Regions from separate parts of the Homo sapiens genome. Here region 1 is linked to region 2. The links are contacts of gene promoters, found by promoter capture Hi-C in blood cells and fetal thymus (Javierre and others, 2016). All regions are on one chromosome and are shown on one strand. Each heading gives the region's core, a stretch centred on a gene start or on the middle of the fragment in contact. The rest is flanking DNA. Distances are from core to core; before and after follow the strand shown.

Evidence for each region. The method cuts DNA at HindIII sites, captures the fragments that hold promoters and counts their contacts. A CHiCAGO score of 5 or more calls a contact.
Region 1: a fragment that was not itself captured here is called in contact with the fragment with the promoter of PRKRA in region 2 in 1 of 17 cell types (fetal thymus); the score reaches 6.0 in fetal thymus.

The regions. Positions count from the first base shown.
Region 1 is chr2:152,710,393-152,715,589 of GRCh38, reverse strand. All of the region lies in intron 2 of PRPF40A (pre-mRNA processing factor 40A), which reads left to right. Among named protein-coding and RNA genes, the nearest start is that of PRPF40A, 4.5 kb to the left of the region's middle. The HindIII fragment of the contact is 1,843 bases long and covers 517-2,359 here.
Region 2 is chr2:178,447,573-178,452,545 of GRCh38, reverse strand. PRKRA (protein activator of interferon induced protein kinase EIF2AK2) reads left to right here and starts at 1,371. Exons shown (of 8, transcript NM_003690.5): 1 at 1,371-1,580; 2 at 2,135-2,304; 3 at 4,960-4,973. The coding sequence starts at 1,516. PJVK (pejvakin) reads right to left here and starts at 1,168. Exons shown (of 7, transcript NM_001042702.5): 1 at 777-1,168. RefSeq lists a silencer at 1,099-1,878 and an enhancer at 1,641-2,215. The HindIII fragment of the contact is 1,572 bases long and covers 939-2,510 here.

The DNA of each region.
Region 1 (5,197 bases), core at 189-2,688, about 26 Mb after region 2:
GAAAATAGCTATTGTTTTGGTTTAGAGCGAATTTTATTCCTGAAATATCTTCCTCTTTGTGTGTTGGAGGAGGGTGAGGGAGGGTGGGGAGTTTGTGCTCTATAATTCTGATTCTTCATAGGACAGTGCCAATAGGTAGTTCATTTTCCACTTATACTATTTTTTTTTAATGCTTGTTGCTTCTACACTCCTGCTTATGAGCTGTCCCTTCCATCTCTAGCATAAATTGTAAATGGACATTTTGTAGGAGTGATTTGGATCAAAAGGTTTTAATGCTGATTCAGTGATTTCGGTAGAACTGAGTTTCTAGAGAAGCATCCAAGAAAGGTAACAGGTTCAGTTACCATGAGTAATTTTGTGCTTCATGTTAAGTTCTATAATAGATCTTTAGGTGGCTGGGTTATTTCCATTTGAGTATTTCCATAAATCATCAAAAATTTAGGCTAACAAAATATTTTGGAAGCCAATTTCATGTGATCTTTTGCTAATTAGTACTGTTTGATAATTGTTTAAGCTTTCATGGTTAAAGTTATTGGTGAAATTGCAGTGGGAAAAGGAGCTTGCTATGTGTCTGTCTCTTTTTACTTAACCTTAAGAGTAGAAGGGCTTAATGTCCAGTGATTTTCCTCTTTTTTTTTTTAATTTGGAATATTGCCCTTAATTTTGTTAAAAAACAAAACAAAACCTTTATTCAAAGGCACCAGCCCCAAAAGATTCTGCTTGCAGGAGTTCTTTAAATAAAAGAGCCTTTTATTCTGTTACTCTAGAATAACACAAATTTTAAAACTCTCTAGGTGATGGAGAAACAACTTTGATTCCTCTTCTGTTTCTTTCCATCTCTAAGGAGCAAGGAGCTCTTCTTGTTTTCTTGGTAGAGCTGCTCTAACTAGATAATGAGCTTTAAAAATATTTATTCTTTAAATGCTCTGGTTCTTATTTAAAATTAGTTTCTTTCCACAGAAAGATAAAATAAAACAATTTGCTACTGCCAGATGCTTCTCTCTTTTCTGGGGCCTTCTGTTTCCATTGGGCCAATCAAGGTAAGTTTTGCAAGGGATTGACCTGCTTACCCTTGCTGTAATGGTGCTATTGCACTACCAAAACCAAGATACCAGCTAGTCATAGTTCTAGTTAAAAAAAAAAATGCAGATTTTATTTTTTAAAAGTACTTTCATGTATCTCATTGACATAAGCTGGTCACAGTTTGCTTTATGGCCCTTTCTCTTTAGCTGTATCAGTGACCATCTTTCTAGTAAGTTTACTTGCTACTCGGTACACATCCATTCAAATAACTGATTTTTTTGGTGTGGTTTTCTTCTACTTTTTCCTAGGCTAATATATGCCACGTGCCTTTAAGTAGACCTAATTATTTAGATGTTTAGAATTCTTCTCCCTCTGAAGGCTCCTGTTAGTATAATAAATAAATGTTTTAGTAGGAGTTATGCCCTGAAAGTCCCAAAAGAATCTCCGCTGTTTTTGTCAGAATTATATAATTCCCTTTTATCCCCTTAATATTTCACTAACAAATATGGGTCCCAAATCTTGGTAAAACAAATTCTTGTTTTAGCTTTATAACAGACTGGGAGAGCATGGATAATTTGAATTCTCAAATCAGAAATCATATTTGAAACTCTGTAAACATTGCTTTAAAAATTAAAGGTGATAATAAATAGGACAATTGATCCTTTTTCCTGCATTATTTCTTCTGCCACTCTTGGAAGTACTCAGGAGGAATAAGTGGTCAGAAGATAATTGAGAAGAAGCAGGATGTCTGTCTGTATCATTCACAGTAGTGACAGTTGGGAGGGTTCTGCCATGCAATTTAAAAAAGTCAGTTCACAAATTCTTTAGACTTTGGGACTGAAGGTTATAAAAACCTTCATGTGTTGACTGGTTTGCATGAACATCTCATGCTGGGACTAGCTAAAGACTAAAATTGGTGGCAGTCTTACTTGCCAAATAATTGTGGTCTTTGGAATGTTACCAATATGACATGAAACTGTAAAACTTGTTTGTAAAATAATATGCAGACTGGGTAGCATAATGATGTACGGAAGCCAGGGTTCATAATTTCTCAAATGCATCAAGCTATTTAGCTTAAAGAAGTGGTGTGTTCAAATTTTTTTTTTCTTAATTCATGAGATGACCTAGAGTGCCATCTCATGCATTTAGGCTGACTCTTAGTAGTAATAAATATTTGATGATTATCAAATTGAGCTTAATATTCTTTCAGGTTTATTTCAGTTTTCTATCTTGTAGATTAAATTTGCCTCTTATTCTATATAACTTTATAGGAAAGTCATACTTTTAGAGTTATAGGATCTTATAGCTGAAAGGGACCTTACAGGTTGTTTAAGCTTTAAATAATATGTGATTTAAGATGCTTTGAGGATCACTGGTTAAATGTTAGTAAAGAAAGATAAAGAATTTTCCCTGCTGGATGGCAGTACTCAAAAATTTCCCATTGGGAGGCTGAGGCGGGTGCATCGCTTGAGCTCAGGAGTTGGAGACCAGCCTGGGCAACATGGTGAAACCCCATCTCTACAAAAACTATTTAAAAATAAGCTGGGTGTGGTGGTGTGCGTCTGTCGTCCCAGCTACTTAGGGGGCTGAGGCAGAAGGATTGCTTGAACCTGGGAGGTCGAGGCTGCAGTGAGTCAAGATCACGCCTTGCACTCCATCCTGGGTGACAAAGTGAGACCCTATCTCAAAAAAATAAAGATTTTCTGTAGAGATTTCTATCAATAAAATTATGTGTGAGGCTGTCTTCTTCCTCAGTGTCCATAGTAAATACTGTTTTCATGTCTTTTGTGTTTTCTACACAAAGGACATGCAGGTCCTGCCATCTTTATCACAGATGATTATGCCTTTGCCCCAGAGTCATGCTAGCTGGCTCTTTTTTTTTCCTCCCTATTTGAGTCTTTATTTTCCTCTATCAGTGAGAAGAGTAGAGTAATTGAGTTAAGGTCCCTTTCAGCTCTAACATCCTATGATTCAGTTCAGATCATTTGATAAGAGTAGATATCAGATTTTATGGGATGATATGGAAAGAACAGAAAATTCCTTTAGTAATGCCTCCCTAATTCTATTTATTCAGTGCTTTTTTTTTTTGGTCTTTGGTCAGTAAACTGATAAATGAATAATTGCTTTTTACAAATGAGTTTGATTTTCTTGCTCCTATATTGAGTAAGGCTGGCTCTAATAGATCTTATTTTATTTCAGTTCCTGCTACCACATGAGCCCAAGTCGTCACTCTCCCATGCCTAGGTTATTCAACAGTTTTTGAGTTGAGTTGGTTTTCTTGCTTCAAGGATGCCCCCCTGCCCCCACAAATTTTAGATTTCAATGTGTTATCTCCTTGCCCAAGAATCTCCAGTACTTTCAGTGCCTATAACATAGTATCTAAATTCCACAGCTTAACTTTAAAGAACCTCCCCATAGTACATGTCAAAGCAGGATTCAAGGCTGCATGTCTTTACACTCCCTAATTTGAACTTAGGCTGGTCTTTTCACGGTGTCTTGAGTGATTATATTAGTTCACAACTTCAAACTTAGGCTGTTCTTCTTACCCTCCTGCCCCCAGCTCAGTATCACCATGAAGTTTGCTTTGCTTACCTATGTTGTACTATTTCAAGTCCTGCCTTCTCCAAAAGTTTCTCAAAAATGACTTTTGCCAACATATACCTCCCCTTCAGATTATTAAAGAAAATATTTGTAATCTACCCATAACTCTTACCGTTTCACTTATTTTGGCACCTAGTTATTGACTTGTTTTATGGTTTCTTAATTTGCTTTAATTTTCCAACAAGTAATAGATTGTAAGCTCTTAGAGGGCAGGGGCTATGTTCTGTACTTTTTAAGAAGCCTATAGGTGCTGAGCACAGTTCTTGGCACATCATGGGTGCTCAGTAAAATACTTGTTGAATGAATGAAACAAATACACAGGTATTCTTTCCTGCAGTATAAGCCCATAAGTCAGTCAGTGTTAAATGTGACTGTTTCCAGTGGTTACTTGTGACTTTACGTTGTTACTACTTATTCTTGTTTTTAGTGTCTGCCTCTTTACTCTTACTTTTTCATTTGACAAAAATGGAAGATAAATAAGATGAAATAAATAATTTTTGTTTGGAGAATAAAACTAAAATATTTCCATTTGCAGTCGACCCTCTGTATCCAGAGATTCAAGCAACTGCGATGGAAAATAGTCTTTAAAAAAGCAACAACAAAAAAATACAAATTTTTAAAAATAAAGTATAATAACTTTTATAGCATTTACATTGTGTAAGGTATTATAAGTAATGTAGAGGTAATGTAGAGGAAAAAATAACAAAGTAGGATATAGGCCTTGCAGAGAAATTTAGTGTATTGGTACCTTAGACTTACCTGACTGATTTGACAAATTTATTTGTTGCTGTTCCTTCTGAATTACCCTTCCTTTTGAGTAGCTACAGGATCCATGCCATTGAATTGGGCATTAGCCAGTGACAAAAAAGAGATAGAATTTTTGTTTTTTAGGTCATCTGCTCATAATTCTTGAATCTGGGTAACTTCTGGGTACATGTGGATGACTCAAGCAAGTACTTTTAAAAAATATCTTAACTCAGACCTAATGTCTGTAAATTCTTGACTCAATGTGGTTAGATTTTTGACAAATGTTAATAGTGAGACTACAAATACGTTTATTTTCATTATCTTTAGATAGCAGTTCATTTAAATATGAGCTCATCTATTCACAAACTTAGTGTGGAAAGATCTAAGGAGGACCACATCAGTTGAGAAGAATGACCGGCATCCCCTGCTCCCCTTTTGAAATTCACAAGGCATAATATTTACTAAAGTGATGAGAAGTCTTGCAGAAGCCTTTTACAATTTTTACTTAGTATTTCTGTCTTATTTGACCATCTCCCCCATAAATCTCCCACATAAAGCATTTGTTTTGCTTTGTGTAGCACATTGTATGAAATTAGCATTTTGTGAGAAATGCTGAATTAGGGCCCTTTATTCTTTTAGTTTGCTCTTTAGGAGAAAAAGGCAACATCAAAATAAGTTAGTGTTAACACACATATGCATAAACGAAACAGCTTGTGTAGTGCAATGAATGTATTCATTAGATAGTGGATCAAAAGAGGAAACAAGTCAATAGATTAACCTTTGATTTTTAAATTAGGCTTGTTGAATATCATGATAAGACTAATAG
Region 2 (4,973 bases), core at 122-2,621:
AGGTGTTATGCGGAGTTCATATATTGTGAAATACTGACTATGTAGCCCTTCCAATAAGATATCCATTAAAACAGTGATGGATAGTAATCTATATACATACATATATAGACGGAGAGGAAGAGAGAATAGGCTCTAATTAAAGCATCAGATGATATAATTTGATTAGATTCTGAACATCTTTCACTTGTTTCAAGCATCCAGGGCTTACATGCTAACAAAACAACAAATCGCTTTTTTTTTTTTTTTTTTTTTTGAGAGGGAGTCTGACTCTGTCGCCCAGGCTGGAGTGCAGTGGCGCGATCTCGGCTCACTGCAACATTTGCCTCCCGGGTTCAAGCGATTCTCCTGCTTTAGCCTCCCGAGTAGCTGGGATTACAGGCGCATGCCACCACGCCCGGCTAATTTTTGTATTTTTAGTAGAGACAGGGTTTCACCATGTTGGCCAGGCTGGTCTCGAACTGCTTACTTCAGGCGATCCGCCAGCCTCGGCCTCCTAAAGTGCTGGGATTACAGGCGTGAGCCACCGCGCCCGCCCATAAATCACTTTTAATAATATCCTTTCGTACGAATAGCATTGTGCAAGCAATCTTCCATAACACCGAGTAAGCACAGGGGAGCATTTCTGCTAGTGCCTAGCAAGCCCCTGGAGAAGCGACACGTCATCTAATGGCCCACCAAAGGTGCTGCATCCCAGGCAAACGCCATTACAACCGACTACCCAGGTCCCCGGAAAGGCCTTCGTTTACTCCTAACGTGTTTTGCTGGGATGCACTGACCCAGCGTTCCATCTCGCGACGAAAGCCCAGAAGACAAAGGAGCCCGCCCGGCGGGAGAGGAGCGGGTGTTTGGACGTCCCCGCGTGTTCCTAAACACAGGGCTCGGGGACCCGAAGAGCGCACCGCAGCCCCCTGGAGCGTATATATCCGGGGTCTCAAGCTTCAGGACCAGGCCCGGGAGACTCCCTGGAATTCTGCCTTCGTAATTTTAGAATCTTTTTCTTAAAGTGACCCAGCCCCCAATCCGTCCTCCCCACAAAGGCTTAACTTTAGGCCTCAACGACCCTAGACCCACGCCGGACAATCCCTCTAATCCCTCTCTCCCGGCAAGAAACGGCCTCCTGCTAAGGACAAAGAACTGCGGCCTAGGGGCCAGTTACTACAGGCTGGTCAGGGCCGGCAGGGGCGGGCGCGGAGAACCCCCGGGAGCCCAATGCCTGTGCCCACGCGGGAGCGGGGCGGAGCCGGGCGGGAAGGGGGCGGACCCTGGAAGGGACAGGGGCGGAGTTGGGCCGGGACGGAGGCCCGCAGAGGAGCAGCGAGGGGGCGTAGCCGGAGCTACGGCACCAAGGCTCCGCCCCCACCCTGCCTGCCCCCTCGCTGGAGCAACGCAAGCAGGAGGCGGGGGAGTCGGAGGAGGTGGCGGCGCTGGAGCTCCTCCCGGGGACCAGCGACCCGGGGAGCGAGCACGTCGCTCCGCACCGCTCTTCCTCCAGCCGCTGAGCCGTCCCTTCTCGCCATGTCCCAGAGCAGGCACCGCGCCGAGGCCCCGCCGCTGGAGCGCGAGGACAGTGGGACCTTCAGGTCAGCGTGCGGGCAGTCAGGGCCCCAGGGCCGGGAGCGTTGGGCGGCAGGGCCGGGGCGCGGGGAGCCGGCCCTCCAGAGGCATTCTGGGTAAAGCCGTGCCCGGCGCCCACGCCTCCGCGGCTGTGGGTGCTCGGCCCCGCCCTCTCGGCGGCGAGGGTTGGGGTCTGCGGCCGGGCCCCGCCCCTCTCGTGGTCCCTGGCGGCGCGCGGGGCGGGCGGAGGTGACGCTCGGTCGGCGCGCCCGGGAAGGGATCGTCAGGTTTTCCCTGAGAGGCTGCGGCGCTGCTGCCAGCCCTGTTCTGTTGAGAATCTCTCCTACCCGCATTCAAGTGCTCTCTCTAAAGACCTCGCTCACCCCGCCTGCTCCTGCGGAGTGACTGCCGCAGCGGGGCCGGAAGACAGGTGCGCCCCAGCCTCGCCAGCTCTGGCCCTGGCCTCCGGGGAACTCGGCGCCTCCCTCGTCACCGTCGGTGGCGGTTAAAACTGGCCTCTACGCTTCTGCTTCAATCTCCAATTTGGCATGCAAAGCACACCTTTTTGTGGTTTTTGCAGTTTGGGGAAGATGATAACAGCTAAGCCAGGGAAAACACCGATTCAGGTATTACACGAATACGGCATGAAGACCAAGAACATCCCAGTTTATGAATGTGAAAGATCTGATGTGCAAATACACGTGCCCACTTTCACCTTCAGAGTAACCGTTGGTGACATAACCTGCACAGGTCTGTATACACAGTTAACCTGGATGACCGAGTGGGTTGGCAGTCAATACTTGGTGTTGCTTTTCAGTTCGGAAAAGTTCTCTTTTTGCCAGACAGCTGTGAGGAACAGGCTCTGAAACTGAGACCTCTCATCTCAGGTCGTTAGGGCTTTTCAGCTGCATCTGATTCTCTTCCTAATTTTCTCTTCCCCACATACCAAGGAAGCTTAGAAACTAAAAAGTTACCCAGCCGGATGGCTGGATCCTGCATGGCTCTTCTCATACCCTAGGATCCTCCTAGGGTTCTTCTTAGAATTAGAGGGAAGCAGGAAAGGTTCTTGGAGCAGTCATAGCTGGGTCAGTAGGTACTGTGAAGTTTCATAGATTATAGCGGATGCCAGGAGGCATGACCCCAGAATTTTCTGAGCGTCTCTCCTCTCTGTATGGACTCATTTGGCACTTTAGGTCCATTGTGCTACTTTTGATTCTGTATCCAAACAAAATGAGGAAGGGGAGAAGGTCCTCATATATTACATAATAACTTCTAGTTTTTGAAACTGAACAGATATTTTGTATATTATCCACTTTTTAAACAAGAAGAAACAGGTTCAGAGAGATTATAAGTAACATGCGTATAGCAATGAAGTCACAAAGCAATGAAATTTTAAAGTTCATGCTTTCTTTTGGTCTGTGAGCTTGAGCAAATGATAACTAAAGTTGCTCATTTGTAAATGTGGACATTATTTTTCTTATGTATCTATTTAATTGCAAACACAGAAAACATTGGATGCTAAATTTAATTTGGAAGAATGCCAAGAAAAAAATTTAGTAGGAAGGCTCAAGTTCTACCATCTGGAAAATCTGAAGACAGCATTTGTTTGTGTCCCTGGAAGTTTGGAGTCTTTTATTTTAATTGATGCCACTTTAAGAAAAGTTTAAAACTTTTTGTGTGAGGCAGTTAGATTGTAGGTGCTGGCCGGAAGGGTCCCCATGGGAACCATAGAGTCAACACTGCATTACTTACTTTAGCTAGTCTATTTCTAGATAGGAAGAATTCAAGAAAAGGGAGGGTTTTTCCCTCTCAATGTGTTTTAGACCCCAAATTAACAACCTATGGCAACCGTTCTGCCTACGCCCTCTTCTCACACTACCATGGCTTCCTGTGCAAGCTTATCTGCCTCCATGGCTTCTGATACTGTCTAAAGACTAATATTCTGAAATGTCTGTCTACATCCCAAGCCCAGTTACAGAATAGTGTATCAGTCTGTGCTTGCTGAGCATCTTTGCCTGGATGACACAGAGGCCCCTCAAGCCTCTCATTGTCCCAAACTGAATCCATCTTTTCCCTCAAACCCATTCTTCTTGCATTCCCTTTCTATGTAAAGGCTCCACAATCACCTAGTTCAGTAGAAATGTAGGCTTTTGTCTTCCTAACTACTTCCCGTCTTTCTCCCTCTTGTCCAGTCTGTTATTAAACTCTATCCATTGGCGTTTAATAATCCACTAACTATCCATTGAATCTGTCGGCTTCTCTCTTCTGGCCATTGCTACTGCCTAGGCCACCATCATCTCTCACTTGGATTGTAGCTGCAGTCTTGTAGCTACACGTTTACCTTCTAGTCTTGTGATGTCCTTTTGTCACATTACAACCAGTGTTCATTCTTTTTTTTTTGAGACAGGGTCTCACTCTGTCACCCAGGCTAGAGTGCAGTGGCATGATCTTGGCTCACTGCAACCTCCGCTACAGCCTGCACTTAGGCTTGTTGTAACATATCCCATTCCATACTTCAGGTGCCTATTAACAGACAAAAATCCCACACTACTCTGTTGGCTCTTGAGGGCAGGGACCCTGTATGCTATATCCCTAATACCTGTGTTAGCAGATAAATATATGGTTTCTGTGTCTTCTTACACTTGAGGGCCACACTTGAAGGCCACACTTGAAACTTATTCCATGAGGGTATGGGAGTTTGAACTTAAAAGGAAAAAGATGGAATTTATCATTTGCCATTGTGATTGCTTACTGAAATTAGACATCAGTCTTATCCCCAGTCCCAACTTAGCTACCCATGCAGAAGATACAGACCGTCCAGAAGATACATAACAAGCTGTCACCTTATTCCATAAAACTCTTTCCTGTTGTACCCAACACATAATCATGACTGCTCAGCCTAGCAAAGCAGTTTGATACGTTATAGGACAGGCTGTCAGAATAAAATTATGCACATTTTGCTATCAAACAATTCTGCTGTAAATGGTTCCTTTAAAAGAAACTTCTTGCTGCAGAAGAATTTCCCCTCCAGGAATAAAGGAAGAGTAAAATACTAATCTGCATTTCTTCAGAGGTGTGACACGGTCTACTTTATTACCATGTTATATAATAAACATATATAATGTAGAAATAAGGATTTTTATGCAGGTATGCATAGAATTATATAGAACTTTAAAAAGTTATTTTTTAAAATTTTTTCACATGGTGAATATTTTATTACAGTATATAACCATGTAGTATATAACATGTACATATTTTTATGTACAGTATATAACGTACATATTTTTATTACCTAGTATGTGTATGTAAAATCTATAGTGACTTTGTTTTGTGTATTGAAAACATCTTTGTAAGCTGCACATTTTTGTGGGAGATAAAGACTTCTTTTTTTAAATCTTAATTCAGGTGAAGGTACAAGT